2 separate regions of the Homo sapiens genome follow, and region 1 is linked to region 2. Evidence: promoter capture Hi-C in 16 types of primary human blood cells and fetal thymus (Javierre and others, 2016). All regions are on one chromosome and are shown on one strand. Each heading gives the region's core, a stretch centred on a gene start or on the middle of the fragment in contact. The rest is flanking DNA. Distances are from core to core; before and after follow the strand shown. Region 1 holds the start of XPC (XPC complex subunit, DNA damage recognition and repair factor). Region 2 holds the start of RAF1 (Raf-1 proto-oncogene, serine/threonine kinase).

Region 1 (2,709 bases), core at 192-2,691, 1.5 Mb before region 2:
ATAACCTAACTCAACTGGTCCCTATGTCCCTCAGTTCAACAAGTGTTTGTTAAAGGATCAGATAACCAACTGTTAGATTACAATGATAGAGAAGTCACAATCCCCACCCTCAAGGAGCTCATTCTACTGTGGAGAGGCATACAAATAATTATAATACTGTAAGAATATGCACATGAAAAAGCCCTACTGCTACCTAAGCCTCTGTCTGGGATGCCCACTGTCTGCTCTTTTCATCCTGTAGCTTTAAATATTGGCTTCTCAAAGAGGCTTCCTCTGATCATCTAACTCATTCACTCAAATATTTTTTGAGTGTTTCCAGCACTGTTCTAAACCCCAAAGACAAAAGAATGAACAAAACAAAATCCCTGCTCTTATGGCATTTACATTCTAGTGGGGAGAGATTCACATTAAACAAAGATGCATACATTTAATATGAAAAAATAACTCTCTATGAAGAAAAATGAGGCAGGGTAACCAGAGTAGCGGGAGTGCTATTTGGGCAGAAGTCCTCTCTGAGGAGGTCAGATTTCAGTAGAAAGTTTAAGTTGTGGCATGATCTCCAAAGATATTTGAGGAAGAAAAAGACCAGGTGAAAAAGCTTCTAGGACCATCTGTTATTCTGCATACCAGTTCCTTGTTTCCTTCACAGCACATCACAGTTCCTGGAAGTCTTACATATTTATATTTACTTTTATCTGTTCTCCTCGCAAATATAAGCTCCAAGTAATGGCAAGGATCTCTTATATGTCGATGTCAGTGTCCCTGGCCCTTAGAACAGTGCCTAACCATACAAAGCTGATGTTCACTCTATCTGCTGAATGAATAAATAATTGTTGCGCTCACTAATGATAACAACTCCTAACTTTATTACCTGGCTTTCTATTGGAATCCTGACAGCTCCATGAGGTAGCTAAGGATAATAATCTACAGATTTAAAAAAATGAAGCGAAGAGTGTGAGAATAGTCATCAGGTGGGCTTCTAACAGGAAAAGGTCTCAGGGCCTACGGCAAAATTCGGAGGGGGGGTTACGGAAAGGACAGGGTGGATTAGGCCATGGTGACTTGGAGAGAGGAGGCACGACTGGCCATTTTTCCTGAGTCTGGAAAAAGCAGCCTAGTACAAGAAGCTCCTTCGAGCGACCTCCTTAAAATACACTTACCTGGTCTACGTCGTCCGCCATGTTTCAAACCCTGCGCCCTTTCCCGCCTCTCGCGAGAACACAAGAGCAACGTCAATCTCCGGAAACGTGAGGATACAATACACCGGAAATAGAGAGAAACCTGTTGTGCTCTTTCCTGCTTCCCGCAGTTTTTTAGTGGCCACGGGTATGGGGTGGAGCTTCCTTTAGGGGCGTGACTAGGCCTCCAACGAAGGGGCGTGGCCAAGCGCACCGCCTCGGGGCGGGGCCGGCGTTCTAGCGCATCGCGGCCGGGTGCGTCACTCGCGAAGTGGAATTTGCCCAGACAAGCAACATGGCTCGGAAACGCGCGGCCGGCGGGGAGCCGCGGGGACGCGAACTGCGCAGCCAGAAATCCAAGGCCAAGAGCAAGGCCCGGCGTGAGGAGGAGGAGGAGGGTGAGAGCGAGGCCCAGCGGGCTTCGCGGGAGACGCCGCCGGTGGGCGGAGGAGGCCCAGAGGCAGGGCGGGAGTCCAGACGCGGAGGCCTGGTGGAGGTTGCTGCGCGCGTTCCGCGCCGTGGGGGCAGCCCGGCAGGCTGCGGCCGGCCCTCCCCGCTGTCCCCGCGTCTTTGTCCTGCGCACCCAGAGCGGTTTCCCGCGAGCTTCGCCCGATCCAAGCTCCTGCGTAGCTTTTTTCCCGCTCCCCGTTGTCCAGAGGATACAGATGTTCAGGGTTGAACTCGGAGAAGGCAGTTATTTGTGTCCCAGGAAGACAGACGGACGGACCAGGACGTAGAGTGATGCAGTGTGCTGACTCCCGAATGATAACTTCAGCTGAGTCTCACCCAGAGTTCCACAGTGGGATCCCACCTGACTTCCCCTCATGGATATTTGATAGGCTTCTTACATTTGTCATGGGCAATGCAGAACTCATGGTTTTCCTCTTTAAATCTATGCTTTCCTCCGTTTTTCCAGTCTCAATACTTGTTATAAAGCAAAGCCCACCTTTTTCTTATGTCCACACATCCAGTCCGTCAGCAAGTCCAGTCAGTTCAGCCTCAAGAGTGTATTTCAAATTTGTCCACTTCTCTTCATTTCCATGACCACAGCCCCTGTCCAAGTCATCATCACCTTTCAGTTGAGTGACTGCAGTTTCCTCTTTACTGGCCTCCCAGCTCTGCATCCAGCAACCCAAATAATCTTAAAAAAAAAAAAAATCATGCCCTGCTCCTGCTTTAAACTCCCCTTGGTTTTCCATTGCTCTTAGCTTAAAATCCAGTTGTTTTATCCTGGCCTACAAGATACTACATGTTTTGGCTCTTGCTACCTCTCCTGTTTCTCTTACCACTTGTTTCCTTGCCAGATACCCTCCTTATTGGCCTCCTTTCTCTTCCTCAAATATGCCAAGTTATTCCTTGAGTCTTTTCCTTTGATGTTCCTTCTGCCTAGAGTGAACCCCCCATGGCTTTTACCAGGGCTGATTTTTTCTATTTCTTCAAAACTCAAGTTAGACATTCCTTGAGCAAACTAAGGTGGTCCTTCCCAGATACCCCGCGGATACTAAAACCTGTGATGCTCAAGTACCTTATA
Region 2 (2,700 bases), core at 59-2,558:
ACGCGATTTCGGCTCACCGCAATCTCCGCCTCCTGGGTACAAGCAATTCTCCTGCCTTAGCCTCCCGAGTAGATGGGATGACAGGCATGCACCACCATGCCCAGCTAATTTGGTATTTTTATTTTTTTATATTTATTTATTTTTTCGAGACGGAGTCTCGCTCTGTCGCCCAGGCTGGAGTGTAATGGTGCGATCTGGGCTCACTGCAACCTCTGCCTCCCGGGTTCAAGCGATTCTCCTGTCTCAGCCTCCTGAGTAGCTGGGATTACAGGCGCCCGCCACCACGCCCGGCTAATTTTTGTATTTTTAGTAGAGACGGGGTTTCTCCATGTTGGTCAGGCTGGTCTCGAACTCCCGACCTCAGGTGATCCGCCTGCCTCGGCCTTCCAAAGTGCTGGGATTACAGGAGTAATCCCAAAAAAAGCGCCGGGCCCTTTTTTTGTTGTTTTTTAAATTCAGTAACTATCTAGTTCATTCTTGGATGGATGACAACCCAGATTGGATGTGTAGCAGCGTTCTCTTAACCAGTTTCCTATTAATCTTCATTTCATCCCCAGTGTTTCTCCAGAATGCAAATAATATGGCATTAAATATCTTCACACATAGCTTTTTGTGTATGTGTATACTTATTTCTCTAGAATTAGTGTCTAGAAGTGAAACTGCCGGGAGGAAGGATATATACTTTTAACATGTCCAAGTTCCACTGTGATAGCGCTGCGAGGGCACACAACAGGTTTCAATATACCTTGGACCAAACCGGATATTATCAGTTTTTTTAACTTGTTGCTAATGTGATGGGGGAAAAATGAACTCGGAATTTACACACAAGGAAAAGACCGTTTAAGGTTCAGGGACTGTCCACATAGCTGTCAAGTGGCGGAGCCGTGATTTGGTATTAAAGTGCCCGGAGAGGACGCGTCAAAGTTGGACACTGTGCCCTGTGTCCTGAGGCACGTCTGGTGATCGCTGGGCCTTGCAATGCTGGGCAGGCAGGCCTTCCTCTCCCCTTCTAGGCCTCTGGCCACTCCTGGCTGGCCGAAAGCCGGTTCTTCTCGATTACCGAGTGCCTCTCCTGAAAGCAAGTCAGCGTCGCCTAACCTCTTCAGCTTCGAAATGGCGGCCACCAGATCGCTAGGCCACGCCCCGGGGGCGGGGCCTGAGTTCAGGCCAGAGCGATGGATGCCCGAGCCAAGTTAGAAGTCGACTGCCAGTAGGGCTCGCGCAGAATCGGAGAGCCGGTGGCGTCGCAGGTCGGGAGGACGAGCACCGAGTCGAGGGCTCGCTCGTCTGGGCCGCCCGAGAGTCTTAATCGCGGGCGCTTGGGCCGCCATCTTAGATGGCGGGAGTAAGAGGAAAACGATTGTGAGGCGGGAACGGCTTTCTGCTGCCTTTTTTGGGCCCCGAAAAGGGTCAGCTGGCCGGGCTTTGGGGCGCGTGCCCTGAGGCGCGGAGCGCGTTTGCTACGATGCGGGGGCTGCTCGGGGCTCCGTCCCCTGGGCTGGGGACGCGCCGAATGTGACCGCCTCCCGCTCCCTCACCCGCCGCGGGGAGGAGGAGCGGGCGAGAAGCTGCCGCCGAACGACAGGACGTTGGGGCGGCCTGGCTCCCTCAGGTAGGTGGCAGGACCGGGTCGTGGATGCCGGGGGAGCCGGGCGGCGGGGCTGAGGGATCGGCTTCCAGGGCGACCGGGCCTGGGTGGCGCTGATGGAGCGGCCCCGCGGCTGCCGGGCAGAGGGCTTGGGCCAGGCCGTTGTCACCCTGGGGTAGCGTTGGGCGGGGGCCCCGGAGTCCGGTGTCATGGCCGGCGAGCCGAGTTCCCACATCCCACTCAAATTTCCTTGTGTTTGGCGGAAACGTGCCAACGCCACCCTTATGCCATGCGCATTCCTCATATTTGGCAGTGGGAAAATCCGCCCAGAGCTGCCCCATATCTGTTGTCACTTGGATGGGCCAATTCCTTTTCTCTTGGGCCGCCGAATGTGGGACCCGGGCTTGCACCCTTTCTCAGGGTACTTCAGTCAAGTGACACCCTTTTAGAGACGACGTGAGGAATCGGGTAAGAGAGGAGGAAACTGGCCAGTGCCCTACCACAAAGGCACAGGGGCCTCTTCTTGGGTATCAGGACTAGCCTTGGGTATCAGGACTCTGGGTTATTAATGAAAGGTTTGGGATACTTATAGAGGATTGGCCTCAGGACGCTTTGGAATGAAGAGCCAGGGCTGTCTTTTGTGTGACGCGAGAGCCGCCGGGACGCTTCAGCTCTGCAGCTGCTGAGGCTCTGCGAGCGAGTCGATGCCCAAGAGAGAGGGGTTTGGACGTCGTGAGAGGCGAGGCGGCCGTGTTCATTCATTGTTCTCGTTCTAGGGCTCTGGGTGTGCCCCTGGTATTCATTCTGTGGTGGGAAGAAGGAATGGAACTTAGTGTATCCTTGAGATGTGAACGGGTTCTAGGGGGTCACTTAATCTAAGTGGAAAATGAATTCAAGGCACGTTCATTGAGCGTTTCTGCTTGCCTGGTCCTCTGTGGGCTGAGTGGAGAGACTCTGCCCTCCCTGCGCTCCTAAGGCGTGAAAACAATGCAGTGTGATAAGAATTGGCTTATCAAGTGTTATGGGGATTTAGAACAGTTAGTTTTGCTTGGGGAGGAGTTGAGGAAGCTTCTACACTCGAGGAGACTTCTGAGTCGAGTTTTGAAACACCT

What was found. The method cuts DNA at HindIII sites, captures the fragments that hold promoters and counts their contacts. A CHiCAGO score of 5 or more calls a contact.
Region 1: the fragment with the promoter of XPC here is called in contact with the fragment with the promoter of RAF1 in region 2 in 1 of 17 cell types (total B cells); the score reaches 6.2 in total B cells.

The regions. Positions count from the first base shown.
Region 1 is chr3:14,177,333-14,180,041 of GRCh38, reverse strand. XPC (XPC complex subunit, DNA damage recognition and repair factor) reads left to right here and starts at 1,441. Exons shown (of 16, transcript NM_004628.5): 1 at 1,441-1,576. The coding sequence starts at 1,474. LSM3 (LSM3 homolog, U6 small nuclear RNA and mRNA degradation associated) reads right to left here and starts at 1,225. Exons shown (of 4, transcript NM_014463.3): 1 at 1,161-1,225. The coding sequence starts at 1,181. RefSeq lists enhancers at 1,132-1,181, 1,282-1,631 and a silencer at 1,682-1,801. The HindIII fragment of the contact is 5,126 bases long and covers 601-2,709 here.
Region 2 is chr3:12,662,725-12,665,424 of GRCh38, reverse strand. RAF1 (Raf-1 proto-oncogene, serine/threonine kinase) reads left to right here and starts at 1,308. Exons shown (of 17, transcript NM_002880.4): 1 at 1,308-1,612. RefSeq lists enhancers at 933-1,002, 1,043-1,392, 1,004-1,615, 1,616-2,226 and a silencer at 1,583-1,802. The HindIII fragment of the contact is 11,087 bases long and covers 1-2,658 here.